Linked DNA regions of Homo sapiens: region 1 is linked to region 2. The links are contacts of gene promoters, found by promoter capture Hi-C in blood cells and fetal thymus (Javierre and others, 2016). All regions are on one chromosome and are shown on one strand. Each heading gives the region's core, a stretch centred on a gene start or on the middle of the fragment in contact. The rest is flanking DNA. Distances are from core to core; before and after follow the strand shown.

Evidence for each region. The method cuts DNA at HindIII sites, captures the fragments that hold promoters and counts their contacts. A CHiCAGO score of 5 or more calls a contact.
Region 1: a fragment that was not itself captured here is called in contact with the fragment with the promoter of CYYR1 in region 2 in 5 of 17 cell types (M0 macrophages, naive B cells, M2 macrophages and 2 more); the score reaches 8.0 in M0 macrophages.

Annotation. Positions count from the first base shown.
Region 1 is chr21:25,898,137-25,903,068 of GRCh38, forward strand. The region is part of intron 15 of APP (amyloid beta precursor protein); the gene reads right to left. Among named protein-coding and RNA genes, the nearest start is that of GABPA, 170 kb to the left of the region's middle. The HindIII fragment of the contact is 3,507 bases long and covers 926-4,432 here.
Region 2 is chr21:26,571,457-26,576,516 of GRCh38, forward strand. CYYR1 (cysteine and tyrosine rich 1) reads right to left here and starts at 1,830. Exons shown (of 4, transcript NM_001320768.2): 1 at 1,412-1,830. The coding sequence starts at 1,484. The HindIII fragment of the contact is 4,187 bases long and covers 33-4,219 here.

The sequences.
Region 1 (4,932 bases), core at 1,429-3,928, 670 kb before region 2:
TTTGTTCCAATTACAAATAAATTATGTTCATGTATCTATGCAGTGAAGCGTTGTAAAAATTATATAATTTTAGTCAAGTGTTCTAGTTACACAGATTGTAATTGGTTCGTCTGCTGAATAAAGAGCTATAGTACATAATTTTAAAAATGCTTCTTAGCAACTAACAGAATTTATAACCTACGAACTCTTCCTTTTCTATAAATTGCTATATGATTCTTAACACTAATTGTTCTGATGAATTTCATTATTCAAATAATAATTTGAAGCTTAAAACAAAATGCAGAGTCATTTAAAAACCAAAAACATAAGTAAAAAATGTAAATGTCAGTGTCCATGCTATAACATTTAATTATCAAACATCAGAATTTTAGGATGAAAAGGGCTTTTGAAGTCATCTTCTCTACCGTGTTCCCACCCAGGGGCAGATTGTCAGTTCCTGTTTGAACATAGAGGAATGTATCAATTTCCCTCCATTTTTTGATAGATTTGCCTGCCCAAACTGTCCTTTTTTTACATGAAGCCAGAATCAGCTTCCCTGTAACTTCCATCCTTTGAGCCTGATTCAACACAGAGCAAGCCTAATCCTCCCTTCCACATTAAAACCTTGAACAGGTATCACGACCCTAAGGAGAGGCATGTTCCTGCTGGTTCTTGTCTTACTTGGGCTACACATTCCCAATTCCTTTGGCTCCCAGGGGAATTCACTTCCTGCTCTTGGCCTAATCACTCTTTCAATCTTGTCTACGAGATTCTGGGAAACTTGTGACACATCTTGCTGACACTGAAAAGCACAATGTCCACAGCATATGATGTGCCAGTCTAAGAGCACAGCCTATACAAGGAGAAGGTAAGGATAATCTGACAAAACCTAGGAAATCCACGCTGGTTGTGACCTAGCACCATTTCCTCATCCAATTGTTCAAAAAGCTTCCACTTGATAACCTATTTGAAAAGAGACCCACAATCAATGTCACTCTATACCTGGCTTACAGATTGTGAAGCTATCTTCTCTCCTTTTTGCTATTCAGAACTTCATTTTCCTATCCCTACCTTCCCAGCTTTCCACAAAGACCACAGGCAATGGTGCTACTTCCCCTTCAAGTTCTCTTAGCCTGCAGTTGGTCTGGGTCATAAGAACTTGGACTTGGGTAGCAAGATGTCATAGTTTAAAATATATCCACAAATTTGCTGATACTCCTTCCTTCAAGAGGGAGAACTTGATTCCCTTCCTTCGAATGTGGTCGGGATGTAGTGACTTGCTCTAGTGAACAGAGCATGATAGAAGTGATGGTGTATGACTTCTGAGACTGGGCCAAAAAAGGCACTAAAACTTCCTTAATCTCTTTCCTGGACCTCTTGGTGCAGGGGTGCGAGATGCCATGTTGTAGGGACGCTCAAGCAGCATTACAGAGTTCACATGGTAAGATACTGAGGTCTCTTAGTAACAGTGACGTGAGTGAGCCACGTTGGAAACAGACCCACCAGGTCCAATCAAACCTTCAGATGACTTTAGCTCAGGCAGTGTCTTAACTGCAACCACATGACGGACACTGTGCCAGAACCATCCAGCTAAACCACATCCCAAATCCTGACCTATAAAAACTGTAAGAAACTAATGCTTGTTGTTTTAAGCTGCTAAATTCTCGCGTTATTTGCTACGTAGCAATAGGTAACTAATGGGCTAGGGCTTTCTTTTCTCATGTTGATCTATCTCGGGCTTTAATTTCCTTTCATCAGAAGTTCATTCTCTTTAATATAGACATAAAAGGCACAATGGAAGTGGGACAGTTTCCCTTTCTCATTCTTTAACTCTGGTCCTCTCAATGACCTAACCCTCAACCCCCAACTTCTTGCTACGAGACCCACAGAGTTCTCTATTCTTATTTATTTTCTTACTTTAATATTGTTAAGTATTTTTTGGTTAAGTTTCAACTCATTCTGCTGAAACGAACCTTTCTGACACTTATTTTTATAGGGTAGTGATGCTAAAACTCTCTTAATTCTCACTGGCTGTATATTTTAATCTTTCTATAGCCCTTTTAAATCTGAGATCCTTATATAACCAGTGATTTCTTTAGAGCTCACTCCTTTTCTGTTATTAAGATCTGGCAACGTGCCAAGCACGGTGGCTCACGCCTGTAATCCCAGCACTTTGGGAGGCCAAGCTGGGTGGATCACTTGAGGTCAGGAGTTTGAGACCAGCCTGGTCAACATGGTGAAACCCTGTCTCTACTAAAAATACAAAAAAAAAAAAAAAAAAAAAAAAAAAAAAATTAGCCAGGTGTGGTGGCGGGTGCCTGTAATCCCAGCTACTCCAGAAGGCTGAGGCATAAGAATCGCTTGAACCCGGCAGGTGGAGGTTGCAGTGAGCTGAGATTGTGCCACTGCACTCCAGCCTGGGTGACAGAATGAGACTCTGTCTCCAAAAATAAATAAATAAATAAAAGATCTAGCAACACAATAGGTTAGAACTATATTTCTGAGATTTTTAAGAAAACTTTCTTGAACAGTTTGAAGAGTCTTCCCTTTTAGATTTTGGAGCCAAATATTTATACTGAAAAATAAAAGTAAAGAATGAGCTCTGGCCGGGCACAGTGGCTCACACCTGTAATCCCAGCACTTTGGGAGGCCGAGGCGGGAGGATCACGAGGTCAAGAGATCAAGACCATGGTGAAACCCCGTCTCTACTAAAAATACAAAAAATTAGCCGGACGTGGTGGCAGGCACCTGTAGTCCCAGCTACTAGAGGCTTAGGCAGGAGAATGGTGTGAACCCAGGAGGCAGAGCTTGCAGTGAGCCGAGATTCGTGCCACTGCACTCCAGCCTGGGCGACAGAGTGAGACTCCATCTCAAAAAAAAAAAAAAAAAGAATGAGCTCTCGGCCAGGTGCAGTGACTCATGCCTGTAATCCCAGCCTTTGGGAGGCTGAGGCGGGCAAACAGTTTGAACTCAGGAGTTCGAGACCAGCCTAGCCAATATGGCAAAACTCTGTCTCTACTAAAAATACAAAAATGAGCCAGGTGTGGTGGCACATCCCTGTAATCCCAGCTGCATGGGAAACTTAGGTGGGAGGATAGCTTTAGCCCAGGAAATGGGGGTTGCAGTGAGCTGGTATCATGCCACTGTTCTCCAGCCTGGAAACAGAGACAAATCCTGTTTTAAAAAAAAAAAAAAAAAAAAAACAAAACCAAGAGCTCTCCACTAAAAACTTTACAAGCCCACACTACTTTTGAAATGATACTGTGAATACTTTTGGTGGTCCAAAAAAAAAAATTCATATTATCAAGTCAGCATGACAGATAAATTCATGTTTACAGCTCAATAGTTTGAGAAGCTCTTGGCAGAAGAGCTCTTGCTATAATAGTTCATGTTTGTTTAGCATGAATAGTCATCTAGGGAAGACTTTTTACATTAAGCAAATCTTACTAAAAGACAAAATCAGTAAGCTGGCACATAGGGAAATATTCATAATAAGGTGATAATGCATGTAATAAAATGTGATGAGTAGTTTCAAATAAATGGCAGGGACCTTGGTTTGCAGGCTTACTTAGAGGTCTTTCTTGAGTTGTGCTGATTTCACCCTAAGCCCTGGTGACTCCAGCTCTCTCTTCCTGTAAGTCATGATGAGTGGACAGAGCCTTTTGTTCATGTGGGGGCTAAGGGAGGTATGTCCTTCATGACACCTCTTGCATGGCTCGGGTCAAGGACCTGGTTTCCCTTTATTTGGACTGCAGAAGGGTGGTGATGAATTGTAACAGAAAGGGTAGCTTTCTACCCTATGTGAAGAGCTCGCTAATGTGTTTTTCTTTTTTATTCTGGTCAAACTGTATAATTAGTCCTTCAGAGTCTATTTTTTCTTTGGAAGTAAGCCAGGAGGAGGAGCTATAATGGCCACTATGCCCCCAAATCACCACTGTTATTACAATGGTCCCTACTTGACACTGCATGCTGGAAGCTACCATATTCTGTTTTTTTAGATATGAGAGTTAAGGAGAAGCCATTTTCCTCAGTCATGATTATAAAGCACTGGGTGGGGGAAAAACAAAAACCTTTTTTTAACTTGTTTCTGAGGACAACAGTGATTATTCAAAAACAATGCCATCACTTGAACGGCATGACAATCTTGGGAAGGCTTTCTAAGTTTGGAAAGGCTAAAGATATAATTCGGCACATTAGACTCAAGTGGGTGGTCTCTAAAATGTGAAGAAGAACCAAAGCTATGCTACAAAACACGGGGAAATTAGCCCAAATGTTTGATAAACTTACTACAAGCACAAAAACAGAACACACGCATGGCTTAATACATGTGCAGTAAATACTGCTATTCATAGACAAACCTTAACTAGAATCTTCCTCACTTCATATCTGAGCATTCTTTCTCAACTTTAGCCATCTTACTGGGCAACCCAAGCCTACGCTGTGTATGAAAGGAAGCTTGGCTTAGGCCACCCTCTCTTCTGAATAGAATTGTTCCCTTCTTCTTTGCCAATCCAGGTGCCTCAAATCTTTCATAACCTCTCTGGAAGCCCATCTCCAGTAAGTTCTCTACTTAACATGCCCCTGGGTTAGTACTCCATCTCCTCCCATCACAGAACATTCTTGTTAGCACTTAATGTTGCTTTGTATTTCCTTGTCTTCCAAATTCCATCTCATGTTTCCAAATATGCAAAATTCCTTCTATTATACCTCAAGCTCCTGAGAGCAGGGACCCTACCGTTTAATTTCTTTCAAACCTAGAAAGAATTTAGTGGATTGATCTTTGTGAAATCCCCAAGTGACATCATATTCTTACTGTTATGAGAAAGGTTTTGGATGGTTTTCTCCCACCAGTGTAATACCATTAACTATTCTCTAGCTCTTCCTTTAAAACACACTGTTTTTGTTTGACAGCGTTTGGAGGTGTCCTTTTTGTTAGATTTAGATTAAAAAAAA
Region 2 (5,060 bases), core at 580-3,079:
AACAGGAGGAGGGGGCAGATGTGTAAAGCAGAAGCTTTCAGTTTACCACAGGGAATATAATAAACAAACAAACAAACAAACAAAATTGTGGTTCAATGGAGTGGTTGAATAAGTGTGAGTGAAAGTATTAAATATTGTCGAGCAGAGGAAGTGAAAAGCATAATTACTTCGAAAGAACTAATAAAGAGATTTTTTCAATAGAAAATGAATATTAATGCAGTTGACTCTGTTAATCCCTCAAATTCTGAAAACCTTATACAAATTTAATAAAAGAAATAAATGTTGTAAACAGATTAAATGTAATTCTCTTCATTAAATACGAAGAACTTATCCTACTTTTATGAATTTTCATATTAGAAGGTCAGCATTTTTCCTGCCATAAAACATCTTTAAAATGGTAACTCCTAGACAGCCACTAATTTGCATTTCAATAAACAGGCTAAAAATGTCTACAGAAGTTATGGTGACTCTTTTCTAGCAAGGTTGAATGAGAAATTCAATTCTTTTAATACTCAGGTGCAACACTGAAGAACATCATTTCAGTTGCAATATCTTTTTGAGTATCAAAGGTAAATTTCAGTGCTATATATACATTTCGTATTGGAGGCTCAGGGGTGAGCCTGCGATTTTTGTCATAGGACGTTAGAGACACAAAAACATTTTACAAAGAACTTTGCTTTTAGCTTGCATTGTTTTGTGAATATGAACTGATGCAAAGACCACGTGTGTAAGACACTTTATACCTGAATAACCAATGAAAGGCCATTTGGGGCTCCATATTAATCACAAACAAGAAAACCCACTTTGCTTCGTTAATTATTAGCAGTTCTTACTACGAATAATTAGAAGGGAAACCAGATGCCCTTCTCTTATAAACAAGTGTCTATCTAAATCAACGAACCTGTACAGATTAGACCCTGGGTGAATTCATGCTTCTCAAAAACCTTGTGTTTGACTTCAGTCCAATAGCTCAGTCTACCACACTTGTGAATCTCCCAAAGAACGAAAACAAAGCTCTAAGTTTTTTTTATTCACAAGAGGGAAAACCAGGACTATTTAGAAAGCAGAAGATGGAGAGGCCACTGCCTAGCCTATCCAGATAAGTTTATTTGGATATAGTTTACTCTATCCAGAGAGTCAAATCCCCTAAACACGAGACTGCTATTTCCAAGGTGGAAAGGGAAAGAAAAGAAATGCAAAAGGTAAAAGTTAAAGGAAAAGGAACAAAACAAAACCGCGTGCGGCTGGAAGTGCGCGGGTTTCTGCCGTCGCCTCGCGGAAAAGGCAGAAGCGTCTGCAAAGGTCCTTCTGCAAAGGTCCCGGTCCGTCCAGCTCAACCCACGTTAGCCCGGACCGTGACCCAAGGGCAGCCCCGAGCCTCTGACCCTCTCCGCCGCCCTCCGTCACTGACCTGCGTAGACAAAGAGCAGGACCAACTTCGGAAGCAAGACCCCTGGACGCACGGGTAGCCTCGGAGCGTCCATCCAAGCCGGTGGCCTGAGGCTTGGAGCGAAGGGAGAGCCCGGAACCGGAGGGAATGGGGAGGATGGAGGGCGATCAGATGGAGAGAGCAGCGCTCCTGAGAGCCGGGTGGAGCAGAGACCCGGCCATTGCCTAGGGAGCCTTCCAAGGGAGCCCGGGCCGGGCGCGTCCCGGGCCAGCGACTGCGGGACTCCGCGGAGCTGGGGCGCCCGTGGCCCGAGACGGGCTGCGCTGGGGGCCCAGGTCTCTTTGTCTCGCCCCACTGCGCTCAGGCGCGGGGAAGGCGGCCACTCCGGCGTCCTTGGCCACCCAGGCTCACATTTCATCTCCGCGGGTGGCAACGACTGCGGGCAGGGGGCGGGGGTGGCCCCGACTCCTCCCCAAGCCCGGGTTCTTCCTTCTAAAGAGTGACTAGGGGACCAAGAAACTTTTCCTAACCCCTTGCTTTGGCGATTGCTATGGAGTTCAGCCTGCTCCTTTTTAACCTTGCCTCCACTACAATTTTTCCTTTCTAAGCAATGGATGAACAACTTTGCTTTTTATCTTTAAACAAAGGGAAGGAATTTTCAGGGTTGAAGGTATTCGACAAAGAGTGACAGTGAAGAAAACTCAGGATTGGGAAGTACAGAAAGTGTATGGCATCTCTGCTGAAAGCTGATAAAATGTTTATTATTTTTTCCTGTAAATTCAGAAAAAAAAAACACAACAGTGCACACTGTCGTTATGATTTTGACGTTTTGGAGTTACTGGCCTATGCAATTAAACAAGAGAAAGAAAAAGATTTATGAAAAATGAAAGCTAAATTGTCATTAGCAAATGAAATACGTGTATACATGGAAAATCAAAGTTAATCAACTATAAAGCTCTTGTTTAGCAAACCAATAGTTTTCTTTCCTGCAAACAAAAATCAGAAAGTTCTCAATGTTATGCATGAAGGAAAAAAAATGATACGAATAAGTAAAGAGATACTTTTTTCACTAAGAAAATTTAGTAGGATAAAGACAACAAGATTCCCCAAATTATTATATACATTTGGAAATAAAATTGATCCCAATTTTTAAAATAACATGATTTTTTTCAAACCAATCTGATTCTAAAGTTTATATGGAAAATAAATATGTAAGAATATCTATTTAAAACAAGAGTAATGAATGGGAATAATGAATGGGATATTACATATAATATCACAATAATTAAAACAGTTTAGATTAACATTGGAATAGATAGGCTTAGTGAAAGAGAAAAGGTAACCCAAAAGTAGACATGAGTATGTACAGCAATTTAATTTATGGTTTAAAGAAATATCAATGTAAAGTAGTAGGGGAAATGATGAGTTACTCAGTGAAAAGTGTTGAGGCCGTAAATAGCCATCTGTGGAGCCTTATCTTTTTACATCAAAATCAGTTCTATATGAATTACATATTTAAGATACAACTATGAAAATATTAGATTAAAAAATAAGAGGATAACATTCAAATAATTGTGGAATAGGGAAGCCTTTTCTAAGCATTATAAAAAACTCAGAAACCATAAAACAAAATATTGACCAACTTGACTAAATAAGAATTAATACTTCCAGTTGGCAGACATTTAACTGGCAAAAATATTTGCAATGCAAAGTCCTAATCTCATTATTATACTGAGCTTAAAAAAATCAATAGGAAAAACAACCAAGAGATAACTGAGGAAGGATATTAATAGACACTTCATACAAAACAAATAAATATAAATATAGAAATAAAATTGACAGTGAGACATCACTTTTCATGTATCAAACCAACCAAATACAAAACCAAATGAACTCTTAAGGGAAACGGTGTGGTTATATGTACGAAAATTCAAATACACATGTACTTAATTTAGTCAGTTCTCTTCCAGGAATTTTTTCCTGTAAATGCAGTGCTGCAAGGGAATACGAGAGTGGGAGGAAACATCACCCCCAAAATAAACATAAGCTAAGCTCTTTACTGTGTTTTACACGTTGGTGAAGGCCCAACCATCCACCATGTTCTAAAGAAGGCTGATCAGTTCCACCTTTTTTCTCATCCTCGCTGGCCAATCTATCACCAAGTTCACCTAATCTGTCCACCTGAACACCACCCAAACGCATTTTAAATTATCATCTATTTCTGTCCTAATCTAGACTTTTATAGTCTTGATTATATTCAGCCTCCCTGCCTTCAGAGATGTTTGCCAGACTGAAGCTGGAATATTTCTTCTTAAACTACAGATTTCATCATGTTCACTCACTCAGTAGCATCCTGTTGCCCTTAGGTTAAAATTCAAACATTTAATCCAGGGTGTTCAAGAACTTGTTCACTAGGTCCTGTCATTCTTGTAGCCTGATCAAAACATTCCACTGGGAAGCACAATTTCTAAATAACTGGGACAATGGTTGGAACCTAGAGAAAATCCCAGGCATACAAGCCCTTTGAGTCTTGAAGGAAGAAGATACAGATGGAAGTCAGTGTTTGCAGAGCTGAAGAATGGTATCCAGCCTGCTTGGAATAGAAAAATGATTGTCTTTGCAGATGAGACTGAATACAGATCCTTGATGGGCTGGTAGCTGTGATAGAAGAAGGGGCTTCTCCCGCCCACTTTTTGACACAGATCAGGAAGAGGCTGGCTGTTGCCACTGAGGCCCATAGGAAGTTGCAGTGTTGGTCAGGATAGTCTCTTTCAGCTTACTTTTGAGAACAGAAAGACTTCTCATACAGTTCAACAGATTGGTCGAGCAAGCTTGCCTGCAAGTGTACCTTCCAGAGCTGCTACCTTGAAGTATGCTGATGCTCAGGAAACCAAACTCAATTGACATGGAAAGGCAAAGAAAGATGGCAAGCCATTTAAGAAATTGTGGTAGTTAAAAGAAAGGATTTGAAGGAAAAAAAGATGTATATACAAATATGTATGGAATGAGAAACCTTAAGAATACAACATCAGAGGAACTAAAAGAGTTCCTGGAAATTAAAATAAATGTGGTTTGAGGTTTTAAAATTTACAGAAAAAAATTATAAAATAGTCACATTAAAAAAAAAAAACTTAGATTGTTAGATCAGGCCAGGCGCGGTGGATCACGCCTGTAATCCCAGCACTTTGGGAGGCCGAGGTGGGTATCACTTGAGGCTAAGAGTTCAAGAGCAGCCTAGCCAACATGGTGAAACTTCATCTGTACTAAAAATACAAAAAATTAACTGGGCGTGGTGGTGTGCACCAGTAGTCTCAGCTCTCAGCTATTCGGGTAGCTGAGGCAGGAGAATCAGGAGGTAGAGGTTACAGTGAGGTAAGATCATGCCACTGCACTCCAGAGTGAGACTCTGTCTCAAAAAAAGAAAAAAAAAATTGTTAGATCAAATAAGGAGTATTTTTCATATAACAGAGGAAAAAAAACACAAAGAAATAGAAACCACGAATAAAAATATAAAAACCCAAAGAATGGGAATAATGTGCAGGCTAATAGTTTCCAGAGAAACACAAAGTGAAAAAGCAAACGTCAAAGAAATAATGTTTTAAAATTCTGAGCTGTAATAAAATTTGAATTTTCATATTTAAAATGGTGAGTTAGTTCCGAGAAATTTTTT